5 separate regions of the Homo sapiens genome follow, and all the other regions are linked to region 2. Evidence: promoter capture Hi-C in 16 types of primary human blood cells and fetal thymus (Javierre and others, 2016). All regions are on one chromosome and are shown on one strand. Each heading gives the region's core, a stretch centred on a gene start or on the middle of the fragment in contact. The rest is flanking DNA. Distances are from core to core; before and after follow the strand shown.

Evidence for each region. The method cuts DNA at HindIII sites, captures the fragments that hold promoters and counts their contacts. A CHiCAGO score of 5 or more calls a contact.
Region 1: a contact is called between a fragment that was not itself captured here and the fragment with the promoter of TNS3 in region 2, in 1 of 17 cell types (total B cells). The highest score is 6.6, in total B cells.
Region 3: a fragment that was not itself captured here is called in contact with the fragment with the promoter of TNS3 in region 2 in 6 of 17 cell types (erythroblasts, M2 macrophages, M0 macrophages and 3 more); the score reaches 12.5 in erythroblasts.
Region 4: a contact is called between a fragment that was not itself captured here and the fragment with the promoter of TNS3 in region 2, in 3 of 17 cell types (erythroblasts, total B cells and megakaryocytes). The highest score is 11.4, in erythroblasts.
Region 5: a contact is called between a fragment that was not itself captured here and the fragment with the promoter of TNS3 in region 2, in 1 of 17 cell types (total B cells). The highest score is 5.3, in total B cells.

Annotation. Positions count from the first base shown.
Region 1 is chr7:47,841,166-47,843,865 of GRCh38, forward strand. It overlaps PKD1L1 (polycystin 1 like 1, transient receptor potential channel interacting), which reads right to left. Exons shown (of 57, transcript NM_138295.5): 34 at 1,797-2,004. Among named protein-coding and RNA genes, the nearest start is that of PKD1L1-AS1, 47 kb to the left of the region's middle. The HindIII fragment of the contact is 577 bases long and covers 1,088-1,664 here.
Region 2 is chr7:47,580,744-47,583,443 of GRCh38, forward strand. It overlaps TNS3 (tensin 3), which reads right to left and starts at 1,368. Exons shown (of 31, transcript NM_022748.12): 1 at 1,308-1,368. RefSeq lists enhancers at 704-1,241, 1,242-1,779. The HindIII fragment of the contact is 9,706 bases long and covers 1-2,700 here.
Region 3 is chr7:47,291,946-47,294,645 of GRCh38, forward strand. TNS3 (tensin 3) reads right to left here. Exons shown (of 31, transcript NM_022748.12): 25 at 1,788-1,883; 26 at 883-960; 27 at 10-87. Among named protein-coding and RNA genes, the nearest start is that of SNORD151, 170 kb to the right of the region's middle. RefSeq lists an enhancer at 1,118-2,317. The HindIII fragment of the contact is 2,934 bases long and covers 1-2,700 here.
Region 4 is chr7:47,258,285-47,260,984 of GRCh38, forward strand. No RefSeq gene overlaps it. Among named protein-coding and RNA genes, the nearest start is that of SNORD151, 210 kb to the right of the region's middle. The HindIII fragment of the contact is 275 bases long and covers 1,163-1,437 here.
Region 5 is chr7:47,897,518-47,900,217 of GRCh38, forward strand. It overlaps PKD1L1 (polycystin 1 like 1, transient receptor potential channel interacting), which reads right to left. Exons shown (of 57, transcript NM_138295.5): 14 at 471-677. Among named protein-coding and RNA genes, the nearest start is that of PKD1L1, 50 kb to the right of the region's middle. RefSeq lists an enhancer at 1-226. The HindIII fragment of the contact is 595 bases long and covers 996-1,590 here.

The DNA.
Region 1 (2,700 bases), core at 126-2,625, 260 kb after region 2:
TCACCTTTCTGTCTCTAATGTTCTGGAGTTCATTTTTTGTGTGTATGATGTAAAGATTTAATAGTACCTTTTTCTACAAGGGCAGCTATTGTTCCAAAATATTTTTTGAAACAGTGCACCCTTTCCTGTGGTTTGTAAGACCTCTAGTCTTCCCTAGAAATCCCTCCTCAGTACCTCTCCCGAGGTCATGACACGATCTCAGGTGCTACAGTTTCAAAATAAGCCTGGATATCGAGTTGGGAGGCCCCTGCCTTGTTCTTCTCTTGAGAGTTGGCATGACTGGTCTTGTAATTCTCTTGTATTCTTTTCTACCTGAATTTTAGGATCAGTTTTCCAAGTTCCACAAAACACTGTCCTGGAATTATGAATAGATTTAATTGGATTTAACCTCATTATGCCTTAGGTTTTCATTTGTAAAGGGGGTATATTAATAGAATTTCATTCACACTATTATTATTAATGTTATAGATTAATTTGGGAGAAATGACAAAGGAAAATCGGCTTTCTCATCCATGAACATAGCTCTTTATTTGGATCTCTTATGCATATCAGGGATAGTTCCTTCATGATGGTCTTGTATGTGGGGTTTGATGAATTCACTTCTAGGCACCCCACCATTTTTTACTGTGACAAAGAGGTTCTTGTTTTCAACTCCATGTTATAAATAGTTATTGCTGTTTTATAGAGATTATTTTGATGATTTTTTCTTAATCACAAATTCAGCAAGTTTCTTTAATGTTATTAGTGCTAATCATTAGAGTGAAGATGCTTCTTCATTTGCTATGTAGACAACCTCATCCTGTACGAAGAACCATCTCTTTCTCCCTTTTGGAAACTTATATTCCTGTTTTATTTCTTGCTTTATTGTTTTTAACCAGGATTTCTAGTACAATGATAAATAGCAGTGCTGACAGCAGACATCCCTTAGAAATCATCTAAAGCTTCACCACTAAATCTTCCTTTGTTAGGTTAAGAACATTCCTATGTGTATGCATTGCTTGTGAATATATACATGTATGTTTATCTGAAAGACAATTTAAATATACAGTTGGTAGACGAAGGGCTTATGGTGAGTAAGGACCACATAAGCTTTAAAAATGTGTTGTGTCCCCATCTATCCTACTGCACTGTGGCACCCCATCTTATTCATCCTCCCATCTAACTCTTTCTCATCCACACCCCAATCCTATTGCTTCCATAAAGTAACCATGGTTCCCTCGGGAAATGGAAGCGTGAGTTCCAAGGGCAGAGGGAGTCTCCCTCTCTGAGGGATTTGTGTCACACGCACTTCGAATTGCACATGGCTCTGCCGGGCTCAATTTCTGCCCCTGCAGACCTCACCTCCACAGCTCACCGCGGCACCCCTGCTCCACTGGGCCCAGTGCTAGACTATTTCCTCCTCCTCCACCGCATCCTTCTTCCCACCCCATCTTCATCCTCCACCAGCTTCTCTGGGACTGTTGTCTTCAGCCCCAAGCTCAGAAGAGTACAACTCATTCTCAGAGTCTCAAAGATCCACTCAGAGACAGAACATATCTCCCCGGGCTGCTTTCCACAGTGGAGACAGAAGGAGAAGGGATTGGAGCAGCTGCAGAAGGTGAAGGGGTCTGCTCTTCACCCTGACAGATGTGCAGGCCAAGGGAGGGCAGTGGAAAGGGCGGGCAAGCTTTGCCTCAGCAATGAGATGAGGCTGCTGTGACAGGTGACAGACGGGGCAGCCAAATCACCAAATCCTCACTTCTGATGTTGACACTGCTTAGACACCATCAAAGAGTACCCCCAGATGCTCGAGCTACCTTTGAGGTCAACCTGGCCGGAGCTCGGAAGCCAGTGTCAATGACGACCGCATATAGCTGATGGCCCGGCAGGGAAGCTTCTTGCAGAAAGATGTAACCAGCTTTCTTTTTTTCATGATGATCTACTTGTCTACTTTTAGCGACCAAAAATCCATAAAGAATCACAGAACCCATAATAAAAATACTGGGAAGCAAGTTTTCTGGGTGGCTATAAACAAAAGGAGAGATATAAAGAAAATTGCTCATGAAAATAGACATATAGGAAAAGACTGATTGCCACCCCTAGCCCCTTACACACAAAAGTCCCTGCTGGGCTTCACTGATACATTTTTACACTTGCTGGAAGCTGAGTTAGAAGGGCTTTGAAGGCAGGGAGCTGGCCTGTGGTCCAGTGAGCAGCACCCCACAAGCATGGACTCCAGAACCAAAGAAACCTTGTAATGGACCAGCCTCTGTGCTAGGTGGCTGTGCCATGCTGGGTCTGAGGAACTTTCATTGTGAACTATGGCTAAGAATGCCAGTCTCGCTGCTATTGTAAAGATTAAGCAATACAAATATACAAAATTCTTGAAACATGCAGGTGCCATTATGTTCCTCCCTCTCTCCCTCTCCTGCTAGCAGAACAAGGCTAGGAGGCATTGGCAATGTTTTGGAGACCCTGCCTGTGCCTCCCACCGCCCCTGTGGATGGTGCTGCTTGTTCCCTACCTGTAGCCTCTACCTACCTGTTCCCAGGCACCAACACTGGCTGGGGTGAGATCACTGAATGCCCACAGTTCCGTAGAATGACATTCATATCAAGCTGCTGTGCAGGGACTCTAACCTAACTGGAGTCTTACAGATTTGTGATGGGATCTCAGAGGGTGGGCACCAGGGTCTATGTCACACGGGGATGTTGCCCGCCC
Region 2 (2,700 bases), core at 118-2,617:
AGGGAAAGCATGAAAGCAATTTAAAAAATTAATATGCACAGACCAAAGCCTCAAGAAAATCTAAAATGTCAAAGGGTTGGTTAGTTCAGAAGGGCCATGCAATATTAATACAATGAGTTCTGCATTCATACTTTTCAGTATATTTTCAGAGTCCTCCATGATCATGCATTCAAATAGTGAAAAAAATGGGGGGAAAGCCAACCCGGAAGATCAAAGTGTGTGAATGCGCCCCAAGGAAGCCTGGGGGCTTCCCAGGGGGTTGTGACCACCCTCAGTAGTGCTCTCTGCTGGCCCCACACCCTGATGGCGCTTTGAGTTTTTCAACCACGCTGGAGTTCGGGTCATCTGCTGACACTGTCTGGAGAATGCCTGAGGAACGCCTGAATCTCTTCCCGCCACAGACACTCAAATCACTCCAAGCAAAGGACCCGGGACTCACATGTCAGGCCGCTGCACAGCACCGACACAGAGACCCCTGGGCCGTCCGGGACCCTCCCTCCTCCTGCTTGTCAGCGACAGCTCCCGCGTGCCAGGAGGCACATGCCACACAGCTGGCCCCCAGCCTGGGACAGCACCCCCCACCCCAGAATATCCCCCCACCCCGAGGTCCCGTCCTTCAGGGAAAAAAAGGAAGCGCGTAAAGACCCCCTGCCTCCCACCCACCAAAGGGAAAGGGAAAGAGACGCACTGGAGAGCTTGCCTAGAAAAAGTAGGAGAAGGGTCTTGAGCCTGCCCATTGAAGCCCCTAGCTGCGCTCTCCACCTGGAGTCTCGAGACGGAGTCCTAGGGAGCAAAGTCCGCTCGGTCCCGACAGCGACTGCGACATAGCTGCTCCGGTCTCTGCCCTCAGTCCAGGGCGCCCGGGCGCCACGGGTCCCACTCGAGTGGTCCTGCGCCCCAGCCAGTCCCCAAACCCAGCCAGTCAGCGCCCCCGTCCCCGGACTCCGGCGAAGCTGGCCCGCGCCCCAGCCCCTGTCCTGGGACTCCTGCCGAGCCCCCGCCCCCCACGCGCCGCAAACCCCGTACCCGCGCGCACCAAACCCCTTGCCCGTGCGCCCCCAACCGGGTCCCCGCGCTCCCTAACCTGGGTTCTCCCGTGACCCCATCCCCGCGCCCTGAGCTCCCGTACCCCGCGCTCCCCGAACTCTGTCTCCGCGCTCCCCGAACTCAGTCCCCGCGCCCCAGCTCCAGATCTCTGTGCTCCCCAAGCCTCGTTCCTGCGCCCGGAGCGCGAAAGCCCGCGCCGGGCCCGAAACAAAGAGGACCGCGGCGCGTGGCCGCGTTTCCTCCTTCCCCGGCCCCAGTACCTGGGGGAGCCTGAGGCGCGGTCCGGCAGGGCGATGGCCGCAACGAGGCTGGGCTCCGAGTAGCGCGCGGGCGGGCCCGTCCTCCTGGCTGGCTGCCGGCGCCCGCGGCAGGGCCCCCTCGAGGCGGCGCGGGCAATCGCCACGGCCGGCCCCCGCGCCCGCGCCCCGAGCCTGGCGGGTCACCTGGCCTCATCACCCTAACAATGCAGCGCGCCTCCAGGCGCCCTTCACCGGGGTCCCCCGCCCTGCCGAGGTGCGCCCTGGGACCTCCCTTCGCTGGCCGCAGAGAGGACCTGGAATTATCAGACCCATTGAGCAGCCCAGGCTCCAAGTGGTCTGGAGGCTTGCAGGTTCCGCCGGGCCGGTGTTAGAGTACCTGGGGAGGCGGGTTCGGATCCTGGTTCCTGCACAACCAGTTCATTCTTTCATTCAGCGCCTGTGATTAAGGTGCTCTCCGGGAGCAAGACCTACCCTCCCTCCTGTAGCTCATAGCCTAGTGGGAGTCGCGCATACATAAAGGAGCACAGCCGCTCCGGAAAGCCTAGGGTGCCGTAGAAGCCCCTGAAATACCCAGCTAATGAAGGGAGGAGGTCAGGGAAGTCTTTAGAAGTCACATGACTTCTTAAAATGCGCCGGGACAAATGAGCAGAATTTAGGCAAGCCAGGGGAAACCAGAAAAACGATCCCGAGCAGAGAGATTCTCAGAGGAGGAAAGGCCTATAGGTTGTCCATCCTGACTGTCCATCCCTGAGATTCAGATGGCCCTGAACTCAGTCGCTTAGCCTCAGTTTCCCCATTTGTGAGATCGGGGGAATGGAAAAAGTTTGCAGAAATCAGAAGTGCTCTTCCTCCAGGGAGGTCACAAGAGAAATTTCATCAGCGGTTTGTCCTGTGGTCCTTTCCAGGAAAACATCCTCCCCGCCAGCCTCTCACAGAAGAGACCTAGATTTCATCTGCCACGTGGAGCAGGCGGTCTCAGAATCCCACCCGGAGCAGGGTCCAGGGCAAGTCTTGGAGGACAGTCACCAAGAACTGCTTTGGATTCGGGAACAGAGCTGCCTAACCCATCCGCAGCCCTGGGGTCCTGCCCTGTTCCTCTGGCCCCTTCAGGGCAGCGGGGGAAGCAGGGAAAACAGCCTGTCAGAGATGGCAGAGAAACCGAGCAAGAATAATTATCCTGGAAAAGACTTTCAGAAGTAACCACCAGAAACTTCGAGTCCCCAGATCCAAACAGCTGAGAATGTGGGGCCTGAGCCACGCTCTGACTCCACTCCCACCACATGAGGAGAAACAAGAGCTGCTTTTCTGGAAGACTTGAACAACCCCTGCTGTGCTCTGGAAGGTAGTGTCATTTCTCATCCCCAGACTGATCTGGGTATTTATTCCCAGGCAA
Region 3 (2,700 bases), core at 87-2,586, 290 kb before region 2:
TTTACTGACCTGCCCCCTGCTTCAACAGCTCAGCTGCTGAATTGGCTGCCGTCTGGGGAGAACTTTCTGCTATTTCCTCCAATGGATCTGTAGGAAGGGGCAAGAAAATACAGAAATGAGTCCTGCTCCTGACCAAGAATCCTCATGACAAAGTTAGACAATTTGATGACAGAATTCCCAGATGGTGACATGCAATGGTTTTGCAGAGTCAAGAGTTTCTCTTTGGGACAATAATTTGGCCCATAGAAACCATGATCACATTCTGAATAAAAGTAGAGATGACAAGGCCTAACAAAATATTTTTCTAATCACCGAATTAGTCATATGAACAATGACACTTTGAAAAGTAAATCACATTTACCTATATATTAAGTTAGACCATTTTTATGTGAAGTTGTGACTGCTTAGGAAAGTGGGACATACGGTCACATCGCCCTGACATGCTGTGGGTGTTATTTAATTTCATTATGGATATTGTTTAACAAACATAAAAGTAAAAAGAACAGTGCATCCATCATCTAAGTTCAACAACATCAACATTTTGCCCATTCCGTAGAAACGTAAAAATTAAATGTCAATGACCCTGAAGCCTTCTTTGTCTGAGGGTTTTATATTTTTAAACTACAGAATCTTTGCTCTATAGAAATCTTTCATCAAAATCCATGATGTAAAGCTATCTGGGAGCTGTCAGTGAAGTAGAATCTCCTCTTCTCTCCTTAATTTGGATGAACTCATTGGCCTTTTCTTGGGTTCAACCAAGAGAATACGAAAAAACTTCCAGTCTTATTATTTTTCTCAGTGGATCTTCATGGATCTCTAAAACCGGTGGCCTTGACTGCAGACAATCTACACAGAGCCTGACTAGCACTGAGGACCCCTTACCTCTCTCTGGGATAAGCAGCTTGCACGGCAAGGCCAAGGGCGTGATGGAATGCTGGCACACCAAGGCCGTCAGGCTCCCTGCAAAGTGGACAGACAGCAAACAAGAGTCAACAACTGCTGTAGATGTTGTGTGCTCAGCCAATTTATCAGCTGGAATGAAACGGATGCAAAGGCTGAGCCCTTATCTTTTTAGCAACTGGTATGTTAGATTAGTGTGCAGCTTTGTGTAAAACTTCAAAGAAGTATAAAGTTCCACAAGATAGTTGAGAGGTAAGTAAATGGAACTGTTTATCATTCTTATCATAGACACATCATTACCAAATTATATAAAGACTAAAGCATACAGTTTGTTGGATCTTGAATCAGGAGGGTTGACATCAAGCCAACTCCAACTTCAACCATATATATTACCCCTGCACAATGCTTCTTAACAAAGCTCTAATAACAATGATGCCTAAGGCTGCACTGTGCTTTGTGTGGATTGCTCAAGTCATCTTTCCAACAAGCTCGTGAGGTAGGGAAGGCTCCCAATTTGCAGGGAAGGGAGGGTGCTCTGTTGGGAGCTCTATGTTGTTCCTTGTGCTGTGGGATAGGGTCATGCTGGAGCTCCAACCTTCTCAGGACTTACCTGCCTGCCAACTAGGATAGAATCTTATTGACGTCTGTAATTCCTACGTCTGATATGGTGCTTTTCATTTGTTTGGTTTTGACAGAGCTTTTAAGAACAACTTCAAATCTAGTTTATCTTAAAGATAATAATGCAGATCAGCAGGATTTCAGAACTGGGGACTGAAATATGAGTAAACCACCATAAGAGTGATAGTCCCAAATCTCAGGTTGGTGAGCAGAGGGAATCCAGGCCTCATGAGTTCAGAACATTGACAGCAACCTCTCAAGCAACTCACCGAAATATGGTTCATTCGAGCACCCTTTCAACCGCACTCCCTTCGGGGTACACTCGATCAAAAAGTGCCGGACGAGTTCATTGGCCAAATCTCCAGCTGTGGCAAGAAATTTAAAGAAAGAAGAATTTTTTGAAAATGGGAGCATGGGAGAATTCAATAGAGAGAACATAAAAGCCAGGAGCTACAGTTGAAAAGGCTCTTCTCTGAATACGAGTCCAGTCACTGCAAAAGAGGCTGCCAAGAACCATCTTCGTCCTAGGAATGGTAGCCGGGCTGCAGGACAGCTGGATGAGCACAGGCTAGGCCAGATACAGGGCGGGAACCCTTGCAATGACAGTGTGGGGGCTGGAGAGGTCCCTTGGGAGAGGCCCTCAAACATTGTGCAAGAATCCCCAACGAAGGGAATGAGCTTGCAGCTAAGAAAGAGGATCATGAATCTCCAGCTGAATCCTCTCCCAAAGAGGAGAGGTGAGAAAGGCTCAGACACAAAATGATACCTATAATGAATCACTGAAAAGAGCTGGAAGGAGGTCAGTCTTCTGGGTGGGATTTAACCAGGAGCCTGGATCTTTAAAACCTTCCAGAAAGCAAGCACTCAGCTGCACGGGAGCAGCACTCTACCACATTGCTATTAACAGTAAACAGTGCATCTGCTTTAGGCCAGCCCATGAGTCCAAAGAGAAAACACATCATAAAAAGCCACTGAATGGCAAAACTATCTGAGAGTGGAAAAGTACAAACAGCACAACCAAAAGAACAAGAAGTCACTGCCCTATGCTAATGAGTCCAACAGACCTTCACAGTGTGCTGTATTTCTGGGATCCAGTGCTTCCTTCATCACCCTCCATTGGGGCATGTCTGCCTAAACTTCTAATATTTCTGGTGTTGGAAACCTCCTGGCAGCAAGATCCAC
Region 4 (2,700 bases), core at 50-2,549, 320 kb before region 2:
TTTTTTTTGTTTTGTTTTTTTGAGACGGAGTCTTGCTCTGTCGCCCAGGCTGGAGTGCAGTGGTGCAATCTTAGCTCATTGCAACCTCCGCCTCCCGAGTTCAAGCGATTCTCCTGCCTCAGCCTCCCAAGTAGCTGGGACTACAGGCAGGTGCCACCAGGCCCAGCTAATTTTGTATTTTTAGTAGAGATGGGGTTTCACCATGTTGGCCAGGCTGGTCTCAAACTCCTGACCTCGTGATCCAACTGCCTCAGCCTCCCAAAGTGCTGGGATTACAGGCGTGAGCCACCGCACCCGGCCCCTTCAAACTGTTTTCTAAGCAGTTGACCCATTCTGTATCTCCACCAGCAAGCGTAAGAGTTCCAGTTTCTCTGCCTCTGCCAGAACTTGATAATGTCCATTTTTGGTTTTGTTTAGCTTTGCCTTGTTTTTGAACTAAGGGAGGTGGAATGAGAGCTCACTGTGCTTTTAACCGGCATATCCCTAGTGTCTCATGCTGTTACATTCATGTGCTGCCTTACCATCTGTGTATCTTCTTCCAGAAAGTATCTGTTCAAATCTTTTCCTTTTTAATTCAACCCTCACTTTTACTTGTAACTGTGTGAACTTGCCACATGCCTTTCCCTGCTTTGCTTTGGGTAACTAGAGGGAAATAAACCCATTGAAGACACTAAGTATGTATGAGACACACCCAGTCATGTTTGGCCATATGCCAGAAGGACTAGTAACTTTGCCATCTTACCCAGGGTGGCAAGTAGACATCCTTCAGCTTCACCCACACCTCAGGCAGCTGTCAGTATTTCATTCCAGGAGTCTTCTTCTTTGCTTTCAACTGGGCCATCATAGAGCGGCCAAGCTCTCCCAACATGCCCCCCGTGCACTCCAAATCTTGGGAGAGGGGTTGGAGACAGACTTTGGCTGCCCTAAGAAGACCCCAGGTTCCTGTTGCCCCTGAAGCTCTTCCTCATGACCAGCCTCGCCCACAGTGAATCTCAGGCTGTATGGGCTTAGGAGAGTTGCTCCAAGATTTAGGAAACCCCCACCTCAGGGCCCTGACTTTCCAGGCATGTCTCTCACTATTGAAGCTACATAGAGGATACTCAATAGAGAAAATCAATGGTTTTGGTGTAAAATAGTTATACCCTAGAAGTTAGCATTATAAAGCTTAGAGAAAAGTCACTCCTATAAATACCCTTGTAAGGAAGCTCCTCTGAGACATTCCTACAGCACTGGGCAGCCAGGAATGACACTGGCCAGACTGGAGTCCCTGCCTAAGATGCTACTTCTGGTAGCCAGGATGCAAAAGGGGGTTACTTAGAGAAAACCGTGGATGAACATCACTGTGAATCACCAAAGAAAGGAGAGAAATTGAAACTTCTGTATAAGACTGCAAAGAGGAGAGAAGCAAGGAGGTGTTTGCTTCTTACGCCCTTGGGAAGCTTGTCTAGTACCCAGGTAGATGTTTCCTATTTTGAGTTCCTATCATACTTTTCTCTCCCCTTCCTTCCTCCCTTCCTTCTTCCTTTTTCTTTTCTTTTCTTTCTCTCTCTTTCTTTCTTCTTTCTCTCTTTCTCTTTCGCCCCCTCTCTCCCTCTCACCTTCTCTATCTCTTTTTCTCTCTCTCTCCCTCTTTTTCTCTCTCTCTCCCTCTCTCTTTCTCCCTCCCTCTCTCTTTCTTTCTCTGTCTCTCTCTTTCTTAGAGATGGAGTTTCACTCTGTTACCCAGGCTGGACTCCTGAATAGCTGAGAGAACAGGCATGCACCACTGTGCTGAGCTTATAATACTTTTCAATAGCTCTTCAGAAGCCAAAAAAAAAAAAAAATGAGAGAGAGGGAGAGAGAATAACACATGGCAATGGCACATACACAGACACAAACATGTAAATATAGTTTTTACATAAACTAACACCCACCAGAGTGGCTTCCCCCAACTCATACTCCTTCCCTGGCTTTAGGTTGTCAAAGATGATCATATCTGATGCCTGATAACAAAAAAATGTTGATAAATATGGTAGTGATAATGGTGATAGTGATGGTGATGTTGAGGATGGTGGTGATAATGATGGTGATGATGGTGATGATGATGATGGTGGTGGTAATGATGATGACAGCGATGATGATGATGGTAATGAAGAGATGATAAAGTGATGATTTTTTCAGTAATGGTGATGATGATGATGATGATGGTGATGATGTGATGACCATGATGATGATGATGGTAATGGTGATGATGACAGTGATGAGGATATGGTAATGGTGATAATGATGATGGTGGAGATGGTGATAATGGTGATGATGATGATGGTAATGGGGATAATGATGATGGTGATGTTGATTGTGATAATGGTGAAGATGATGATGATGGTGATGATGAAGATATAGCACAATCTATGGAAAGTTCACTATGTCCTTGGCTTTGTACTAGTTCTTCTTACACATAATTTCATTCCATGTTCACAGCAACCCTTTTCAAAAATGGAGTCCCAGGAGCATGATCACACAGCGTGGACTGACCAGCCTGACTCTCACCCACAAACAGAGAAGGAGGATCATCAGTGCACAGCTCTAAAACACACTGTCACGAAGAACTCTGTCAATCGGAGAGGTTATTTCTTTTAAAACTGACATTTAAACACTTTCCTTATGCCATAAGCAAAAATCAACTAAAGATGGATTAAAGACTTAAATGTAAAACCTAAA
Region 5 (2,700 bases), core at 43-2,542, 320 kb after region 2:
CTCTTTTAACTCGCATATTTTCACCACTTTTTCCAGCCAAAATGCACCAAGCACATGCTGAGAATCAAAGTGCCAGGCAGTCACCGTGAGTGCCTCTTGGATGCCCTGCCCTCTGACTGTCGTCTCCTTTCCTTTCTGGGTGATTGGCCCCTAAATGGCAGGGCCACACATTCTCCTGACATCCCGGCACCAGCACAGGGCTTATTCAAATTAGGTACACAGGAAGGTTTTGTTATACACATTGGAAGGAGCTTTTCATCAATTGCTTTGACTGCATTTGAACATAATTTGTTCTCTTTGGGGGAATTAAACATTTCTCTTAAAATCCAATGCAGATTTTTTTTTTTTTAAACAACCTCCCTTTTCCTGGATCGAACAGGTGTTGAATTCCAAATGCTGAGCTCTTGCTCCAGGGCGATGAGAAGCATGGGTTTCATTGGGCCAGTAGAGCAGTAAGTCAGCCAGCTGACCTTGGCAAGGGCAGTGTAGTTCCCATACTCCAAGGTGTGGCTCGGGAGGATGAGGGTCTGTCTGTGAGTGTCCACAGCAGCAGGGAGGGAGACAGGGAGCCCTTCAGAGTCCATCAAGTTCCAGGTGTAAGAAAGACCTTGGGAAATATCACAGAAGACTGCAGCTTCAAACGTCACTCCCAGCCTCACAGGCTGAGACCTCCATATCTAAGTATCAAGAAGAGAAGATGTCTCATTAAAATGTCCATCACATCTAATGTACTGGTAAATTACTAGAAACTTAGTCTTAACTGTAGATCTCCCATTATTTGTTTGCATAGTGACAGAATGGTATTCTTAGGTCTGGGCTTTAGACAACACCAGAATAAACACTACATCTATTTTATAGACAAAAATAAAAGGTTAAAAAAAAACCAACTAAAATAATAAGTAAATATTTATATACTCATGAGAAAAAACTTCCTATGCATAAAATTAATGGAAAAATAGCAAAGATATCTGATATTTGATTACATAAAAAATTTAAGCTTCCAAACGTCAAAAATATAAATGTTATGCTTCTGGGTTTTGGCACCTATGTGTATATATAAATTTTTTAAATCAATGAATATAATAAGAAAATCATTTGCAGTATACACAACAGATGTTTGCTTTCCCTATTTTTTTCTTCACTGAAATATTCTTAAGTCATTCTCAGAAATCATGACATTTAATCCCTAAATACTAAATATACATCTCTAAAAACTAAGGGAATTTTCCTACATCAACACAACACTACTATCTCACCTTAAAAATTAACAATAAGTTCTTAGTATAATTTAAACCTAGTTTATAATAAAATTTCCCTTATTGTCTCCAAAACATACCCTTGTGCAATTGTTTGATTTGAGATGCACAAAAGTTCTTTTGCTAAAAAAAAAAAAGGAGAGAGGAGAAAAAAATTTTCTTATCAACTAGAACTATGAGGTTTCCTAAACTATAGTTTGGTCAGGAAAATAAGAATAAATGCTTAATTCTTTCCCTTAATTACCAACATTCAGAGTAAGAAGCTGGGGCACTAGTTACTTCCAAAGGTGACCAATATGTTACTTGTGTCTGCCTGCTTGGTGGGAACAGCAGAAGCTTCTCTTTCTCTTTCAGCATAATTATTTTTAAAATATTAGCATTATTCATTCAATTGTAGATGTTACTTTTTAGATGCTCCAAGTAGCCCATCAGGGGCCTGGGGCACTCTCCTTGGCCTGGCTCTGGCAACCTTCTGGTATGACCCTGGTAGTCTTTTAAAGTGATGGGTTTGTTGCACTATTCTTTCTACTGTTATTTATGCTTTAAAATTTCCATAACAAAGAATTTTAAATGTTAATAGTAGCTGATACATATACAAAAAGCATATTTGCTCACTTTAATAAGCCAATGAGGATGAGGATATGGGGGGGAATATTAGTGTCTACCCATCCACACCCCTTACTCCTCCCAGCCACTCTGTCTTTCTGAAGCCCCTCCACACCCCCTACTTTGGGCTGGAGCCAGATGCCACCTCAAGCATGGAGGAGCAAGCCAGGCTAGGGGGCCTCAGGATAGAGTCTCTGCCTGGCCAGAGCGCCTCCACCCTGCAGATGCTGGGTGCAGGGTCTCCCCCAGAGGGATTTTTTTTTTCCTGAAGGTTCCCTAAAAATTGGAAAGGGAAGGCCAGGCACGGTGACGCAAGCCTGTAATCCCAGCACTTTGGGAGGCCAAGGTGGGCGGATCACGAGGTCAGGAGATCAAGACCATCCTGGCTAACACGGTGAAACCCTGTTTTTACTAAAAATACAAAAAATTAGCCAGGTGTGGTGGCGGACGCCTGTAGTCCCAGCTACTCTGGAGGCTGAGGCAGGAGAATGGTGTGAACCCGGGAGGCGGAGCTTGCAGTGAGCCCAGATTGCACCACTGCACTCCCTCCTAGGCAACAGAGCGAGACTCCATCCCAAAAAAAAAAAAAATCGGAAAGGGAAAAACCTGGAGGCAGCTGAGAAATGGGATTTTAAGAAATCTTGGTGCTCATTATAAATGAAAGTTTACTTTTGACATTCTTTAGGTGACTTTAGTTATAATTAAAATTACTTTCCAATTACTTTTTATTGTTTCTATTCTGAATATGATATCATTCTAAGATTTGTCACAAAACTGCCCAGATTTATATGGGTTACAGCAAATTTTAATACTAGGATGCCAATTTTTAGCTCATTCA